2 separate regions of the Homo sapiens genome follow, and region 1 is linked to region 2. Evidence: promoter capture Hi-C in 16 types of primary human blood cells and fetal thymus (Javierre and others, 2016). All regions are on one chromosome and are shown on one strand. The core of a region is centred on a gene start or on the middle of the fragment in contact, and the rest is flanking DNA. Distances in the headings are between cores, read along the strand shown. Region 1 holds the start of UBAP2L (ubiquitin associated protein 2 like). Region 2 holds the start of HCN3 (hyperpolarization activated cyclic nucleotide gated potassium channel 3).

Region 1 (3,430 bases), core at 714-3,213, 1.1 Mb after region 2:
GTGCGAGAGTAAACAGAGGTTTCAACACAGGAGTGCCCTTGACTCTTTTTTGAAAACTAGCTACTTAAAAAAATAGCCAGAGAAATTTCACTGAAAAAACTAAATAACAAATATTTATTGAGAATCTACTATGTGTCCAATACTTCAGGAAAATACAAAAGCAGTATGACTTAGTAGCTGCCCTCAGGGAGCTTACAATCTAATTTAAGAAACAATTCAGAAACTGAAGCTAGACTGAGTTGGGTAAAATTTGCTACCTCTAACAGAACAACTAATTTCTGTAGATGCTTTGTTGAAATGGCCCCTGCATCCCCTTCCCCACCACCTTGATATCTAGTTAGTAAGAGTACTTCCCAGTTAGGACATAGCAAGGAGGAGCTTTAAAGATGAAAAACAAAACAGGACATTTTTAGGCCTTTCATCACTAGTTTATGTGCCAGCAATATTTCCCATTCACAAAGGAAACAATCATTGAGATAGTCTAATCTTTAAGGACAATGGTGTCAGATCTCAAAGCAGTTTTATCAACTGATACACAGCCAAAATGTTTTAATTCTCTGTAATCATTGGGATAGTCTAATCTTTAAGTACAATGGAGACAGATCTCAAAGCAGTTTTATCAACTGATACACAGCCAAAATGTTTTAATTCTCTAGAAACGCTGGTTACTAGTAATGTCCATCACCTCCCAGCAAGTCACATCAGGTATCCCCAAAACAGGATATGCGGCGGAGGAAGGTAGGATGGGAGAGAAGACAAAAAAAAAGGATTTCTCCATTTAATAATCAGGGAGAGTCAAAGGCAAAAACGTTAACAATAATAACAAAAACGCCTGTTACTGTGGTGTTTTTCTTTCCACAACATCCTACACCAGAGGTGGCTACATTTCAAGAATGGTGGAAAAGGAGCAGTCTCCAGTTTGTGACATCAGTTTGCAAAGCAATTTAAGGGCTGTCCACAAGGTTAAGGGTTTGAAGAAACTGGGCATTCCTGTACCATTATGAGAAGAGTGAACAAATACCCCAGTGCTCTAGTGACGTCCCTTAAGCGTAAATACACCCTATGGGGGCCTCCATGTCCAGCTTCCCAAATAACACAATTGTTTGGGGTACCCAAACTACAGTATAAACAGGAAGCTAAAGACAGCAGCAAAAACATATTCCAAGAACTGGGTTGGTGAGAAAGAAGGGAGGGTAATAAGAGGAGCTGACAAAGAGCCTGGAAACGGAGAGGGGACGCAAGCCCACGGGTGGAGGATGGGAGGCTCACCCCCCTCAGCGCCACATCGAGAGCCCACGGGGCCAATCTCCTCCCTACCTCCCAGCCGGAACAAATTAATCCTTCGCACACCAAACTGAGGGCCACATGGGGGAGTTTGGGGGAGCTCCACCCCATCGCCCTCCCTCCCCCACGCCACCCCCAAACCAGGCCGGATCCGGATCAGAGGAGGCCCGCAGTGGGTGGAAAGGGAGGAGGCCCTCTCCTCCGCAGGCACCGGCCGGGGTGAAGAGAGAGCCCTACCTCAGGCAAGGCCCAGGCCTCGCTCGCTCGCGCTCTTTCTCGCTCTCCCCTCTCAGGCTCTAGCCGCATGGCCCCCCCTTCCTACGGCTGCTCCAAGCCCCGCCCCGGCCACGCTCCCAAATCGAGGCCCCGGCTCTGGCGCGGCCCACTAGGCCGCGAACCCAACCATAAACAAAACCTCCGGGGGCCGACTCGAGGTGGGGGGCGCCAGGGCTCGCATGACTCGGGGGGGGGTGTACAGTGGGGGAACACACGGTGTGGGGGGGCCTACCGAGGGAGGGGATACGGCGGGGGCAGGGGAGAAAAGAGGGAGGGTAAAAGGGGGATCGCGGATTTAAAGGGGCCGCGGACAATACCCGGCCCCGCCGCGCTGCCGCTGCCGCCGCCGCCGCCGCCAACGCCGCTGCGCTCCCAACTTTACCTCAGTCTCCTCCACACTGACACCCCGGGCCGCGCCGCCCCTGTCACGTGATATAAGATTCCCTCTTCCCCACCCCCTCCCTCCTTTTCCCTCTCGCGCTCGCTCTCGCGCCTTCCCCCGCCCACTTGCCTTCCTGCGTCCCTCAGCGCGTGACGCTAAAAGGGGCGCGCACGCAAGCGTGCGCGTGCCGCCTCGCCACGAGACACCTCTTTCCGGCTCCGCGAGTCCACCCCGCCTCCTTCACGGCGGCCCTGCCTCCACCACGTGACGCACGGATGGCCGCCGCTTCCTCTTACTGTCGTAGTTCCGCGTCTGAGCGCTCGACGCTCCTGGGTGCCATTGCCTGCCTGAGTCACGTGTCAGGGGGAAGCTGGAAGGCGTCGTTCTCCTTTCCCAGCTCTCCTGCCTGTCCGCCATGTTTTCAGGCCGGGTCTGGCTTGGTCTTCCCCCGTAAGGAAATGGCCGGGGAGCTCCAGGGGACCCAGGCGCCGTCGCTTCGGCGGAGCCTGGGCTGACCAGCCAGGACAGCGGGGTAAACCCGAACAATTCTGCGCGAGGTAGGGAGGCCATGGCGTCCGGCAGTAACTGGCTCTCCGGGGTGAATGTCGTGCTGGTGATGGCCTACGGGAGCCTGGTGAGGAGATTACCCCACCCCATTCCTGCTGTCGCATCTTACCCAGTAGAGACCCTCCTTTTGAGCTGTACCCCGTCTGCATTCTCCACCCACTCACCTGCGCCTATCCGGGCTTTGACTCCTTATTCCAGGAGTAGGTGGGAGTTTAAGTCACTTAGTCGGGCCGACCCGCCCTCGTTAGTCTAGAACCCTCCCTTTAACGCTAGAGCACAGACCCCACGCCTCCCTGCTGCTGGCTTCTTAGATCCACCCCCATCATAACGGCCTTGCTTTGCCCCAAGTTTTACCCTGAAACATTCCTGAGAGCCGGAATCTGGGGATTTGGAATGAAGGCATGCTTTTTTAAAAAAAAAACAAAACAAAACTGACTTTTTATTAAAGGATTTTTACATCTTTTTGGACAGGTGTTTGTACTGCTATTTATTTTTGTGAAGAGGCAAATCATGCGCTTTGCAATGAAATCTCGAAGGGGACCTCATGTCCCTGTGGGACACAATGCCCCCAAGGTAGGTCCTTAGGGCACAAGTTAAACATACTTCTCCAGATCTTTTAGGGTCAAGAATGAGATTTCCTCTGCCTTTAGTGATGACTTTAATTCTCATGTTTCTTTGCGTGCACTTGTCCTTGTACTTACTAAGTTGAGCAGGCACTGTGCGCTTTGGAACTTGGCTTACCTGCTCAGTGCTGTGGCAAGCATGTGGCTCATCCTGGAACTTCTGTTTTTGTATCTGCAGAATGAAGGGCTTGGGTCGAAGTTCCCAACTGTTTGTAGTAAAATATTTCCCAGCTCATCTTAAACTACCCAGTGTTTTTTGTTTGATTAGGATGGGGTTGAGATCATTAAGGTTAACCCA
Region 2 (3,919 bases), core at 30-2,529:
GTGTGTATATATGTGGATTCAAGATAATGTCTGGGTCTACAACTGTATTTCGAGGCTCCAGATTCACACCTCTTCCTCTCTGCTTCTTTAGTTCCCCAGGTTAGGTGCTTTGCACACATCCCTGCCTCATCCAAGAGCTGTCCTTCATTTCCCCCAAGGACAGGGCTGCTGTCTTCCCCTAGCGACCTTGATGTAGAGGTACACCCTGACGGAGACTGTGAAATGGCCCCACCCCCACCCTCTGTTCCTTCTCTGGGAGTCACCTGGGTGGTGGTCCTGCCCCTGCTTTGCCGCCTCAGTCACTCTGAGTCTCGGCCCCGCCCCGCCGCCCCCGCCTTCAGCACTAGGGACAGCGACCAGAGCTGAGGTCTGGACCCCCCGCCCCCTTCAGCGTCCCTATTTTTCCTGGTAGTCTGTCATGCTGAACTAGGCAGGTGCTAAGGAGCGGGTGTGGGGATGGGAGATGGCGGAGCTCGGCTTCTCCCTCAGACTGGCCCCGATACTTAGAATATAATTTCCTAGATCTCCAGCAAGCAGGACTGGAGGAGGCAGGGGTCCCAAACTCTGGTAGTTCCTTTGGTCCGGATGGGGTCCCGGGTTCCTGAAAGAGGAAATCCAGGTCTCTGGAGATCCCCTGATGTCTGCTTGCCCCTTCTGGTGCCCCCAGCCTGTCCAGGCACGGAGGACCTCCGGCAGGGGATACCCGCCCAGGAATTCCCAGGCTAGACTGGTGCAAGTGACTCTCCCGCCCCACCAAGGGACCCCGGGCTGGAAATGAAGTGACCGTGGAGGGTGGGGCGGGCCGGGTCCCGGTGTCGCTGCCCGCGAGGGTGGGATTGATGTACCCTGCCCTCCCCGCCAAGCCCCCAATACCGGAAGTCGCTGTAGGGGTGGATGATCCAGGCCCCCGCTGACTTCACCCGCTCCTGCTCGATTTCCACTGCTTTGTGGCTGCCGAACACCCGAAGGGAGAACTTGTTGACCGTAGGCTGGAGCAGCGTCCCAAGGTGCCTCCTCTTAGGCTCAGGCCCAGATTTGGGGATCGGACCTGAGGCCGCGGTCGCAGGCGGGGGAGCAACGGGAGGCACCGCCTCCAGTCCAGGGGTCGCCCCTTCGCTGGCCCCCGCCGCCGGCCGCTGCTCTGCCTCCATGGCGCCCACCCCGCTTACACGCTCGGCCTCCTAGAGCCCTCTGTGGCCATCAGGTACCCGCAACCCCTCCAGAGCAGGAGTCGGCGCAGCCCCGCGGGCTCTAGCGGAGGCGTCGTAGGCTCGGAATCGCCGGCGCGCGGGGCGGAGGGGGTGTGTGCTAGACTGGCGGGCGGCGGGCGGGCTGCGCGGCGCCCCCTGGCGAGGGCCGCGCCAAGACCGGGCGGGGCTGGGACGCCGGGATCCTGGAGGAACTCCGAGAGGGGCGTGGCTTAGCAAAGAAGGCGGGGAGCGCAGCCTGAGCCAGGGAGAGGGCGTGGCCTAGCGTTGGCCTTTCATCCACTGAGAACCAGGGAGGAGGAGCCCCCTGCAGTGGCGGGAAAATCGGACGCGGGTTTGTAGCTTGAAGGACTTGGGAGGGAGAGGGATTGGGGACCAATGGAAGAAGTGGAAATGGCTTTTGGGATTCTTCTCCACTCTCGCCCAGGGACTTCTGTCCTGCTCCCGTCTTCTCTCAACACTGTCCTAGGCATATTCTTGTCTTTTGGTCTCCTCCGAACTGCTTCCCCTAGTATTTAATTTCCTAATTCATTCTGTCAGCCTTCACCAAGTGCAACTCTGCCTGTCATTGAGTGGATGCTGAGGAAACAAAAATGAATACAAAAGTCCTAGTCTTAGCATCTCCATGTAGTAATGGAAAACAACACAAAACAAAACAAAAACAAAGGCCTAGCCATAAAGCCACTGCTCATCTGTGCCCAACGACAGACAGGTAAATTGCAGTGCTATGCGAAGTGCTACAAATTCCTAAATATCTCAAATTCTCCCCTTCATCTCCAATTCTTATTACCACTGCCTCATTTCAAGCCCTCAGCATTTTTTCACTTAAATTACTTCGGAAACCTCTAAAAGAGTCTTCAACCTCTTCCAGGCCAATTCTTCTTCCATTCCCTGCCAGTTACCTTCCTAAAATCCAACTATGGCTGTGTCACTTGCTTGAAGCCCATCAAGCTTTCCCATCTTCTACAGGGGTACATTTAAGCTGCTTAGCATGGTGTACCAGGCCCAAAAAATTTGGACCTAGTTTCAACAGTCTCTCTTCTGACAGTCCCTCTCTTGAAAGCCACAGCCCCAATCATGCTGAAAGACTTTGTGCTGCCTTGTCTCTATGCTTTTGCAAATATTTTCTCTGCCTGGTATTCTCCTCCAATTCACTTTCGAACAGTTGGTTCAGATCTTGCTTTCTCTAGGAAACCTAGGAACACATTTCCAACTCTCCTTTCCTCAGGTAGGGTCTATTCTAGAGCTTTTTTACAGCAGCCAGGGCACCACTGTTTTGAGCAACTCATGTCACAGGGCTACCATTATTATTATTATTTTAGAGATGAGGTCACACTATGTTGCCCAGGCTGGTTTTGAACTCAGAGCTCAAGTGATCTTCCTGCCTTGGCTTCCCAAAGTGCTAGGATTACAGGCATGAGCATGGTCTCATTATTTATTTACAGATTTTCTCTCCTGTTAGATTGTGAAACTCTGAGAAACAGGAACCTTGCACCTGGCATAATTCTGGACACATAGTGGACATTCAGTAAATGCTTGTTGAATGAATTAATAATCTAGGAAAATGTTCCAGGAGGTGGAAGTGAAATCTTTACTTCTCTCTCCCCGACTCCTTCATTGATTGCTCTCCATGTTCTATTCCAGGGAACTTCTCTAAACTATGTCTGGTTATCTGATCTAACCTCCATCTGACCATCCTTCATCCAGCTCCTCTCTAATATTTCCTGACTTTATTTATTTACTCATTCTAGAGTCAGGGTCTTGCTCTGTTGCTCAAGCTGGAGTGCAGTGGTGTGATCATGACCCACTGCAGCCTCAAAGCAATCTTCCCACCTCAGTTTCCTGAGTAGCTGGGACTACAGGTGTGAGCCACCTTGCTCAGCTCCCTGACTTTAATATCGTTATTCTCAGATTATATTATTTCTCTTTCAATTGACCTTTCTGACCACTTCTCAATTCCTTCTGTAAAGTCTCTAACTCTTTCTCTTTCTCATTTTCTTTTTTTCTTTTCTTTTCTTTTTTTTTTTTTTTTTTTTTTGAGATAGAGTCTCACTCTGTCGCCCAAGCTGGAGTGCAGTGGCACGATCACGGGTCACTACAGCCTCAACCTCCCCAGGCTCAGGTGATCCTCCCACCTCAGCCTCCCGAGTAGCTGGGACTACAGGTGGGAGACACCATGAATGGCTAATTTTTATTTTTTATTTTATTTTATTTTAGACACAGTCTCACTCTGTCGCCCAGGCTGGAGTGCAATGGCACCATCTCGGCTCACTGCAACCTCCACCTTCTGGATTCAAGCGATTCTCGTGCCTCAGCCTTCCAAATAGCTGGGATTACAGGCACCTGCCATCACACCCGGCTAATTTTTGTATTTTTAGTAGAGACAGGGTTTCACCAGGTTGGCCAGGCTGGTCTCGAACTCCTGTGCTCAAGTGATCCACCTTCCTGGGCCTCCAAAACTGTTGGGATTACAGGCATGAGCCACCGCGCTTGGCCTAATTTTTGTATTTTTTTTTTTTTTTTTTTTTTTTTTTTTGAGACGGAGTCTCGCTGTCGCCCAGGCTGGAGTGCAGTGGCGCAATCTCGGCTCACTGCAGGCTCCGCCCCCTGGGGTTCACGCCATTCTCCTGCCTCAGCCTCCCGAGTAGCTGGGACTACAGGCGCCCGCCACCTCGCCCGGCTAATTTTTTGTATTTTTAGTAGAGACGGGG

What was found. The method cuts DNA at HindIII sites, captures the fragments that hold promoters and counts their contacts. A CHiCAGO score of 5 or more calls a contact.
Region 1: a contact is called between the fragment with the promoter of UBAP2L here and the fragment with the promoter of HCN3 in region 2, in 1 of 17 cell types (neutrophils). The highest score is 5.3, in neutrophils.

The regions. Positions count from the first base shown.
Region 1 is chr1:154,219,488-154,222,917 of GRCh38, reverse strand. It overlaps UBAP2L (ubiquitin associated protein 2 like), which reads right to left and starts at 1,963. Exons shown (of 27, transcript NM_014847.4): 1 at 1,943-1,963. It overlaps LTAP1 (lipid transport auxiliary protein 1), which reads left to right and starts at 2,328. Exons shown (of 7, transcript NM_001098616.3): 1 at 2,328-2,576; 2 at 2,981-3,082. The coding sequence starts at 2,511. RefSeq lists silencers at 1,790-1,939, 2,800-2,869 and enhancers at 1,460-2,207, 2,190-2,629, 2,208-2,955. The HindIII fragment of the contact is 10,463 bases long and covers 1-3,430 here.
Region 2 is chr1:155,274,823-155,278,741 of GRCh38, reverse strand. It overlaps HCN3 (hyperpolarization activated cyclic nucleotide gated potassium channel 3), which reads right to left and starts at 1,279. Exons shown (of 8, transcript NM_020897.3): 1 at 874-1,279. The coding sequence starts at 1,151. The HindIII fragment of the contact is 9,883 bases long and covers 1-2,161 here.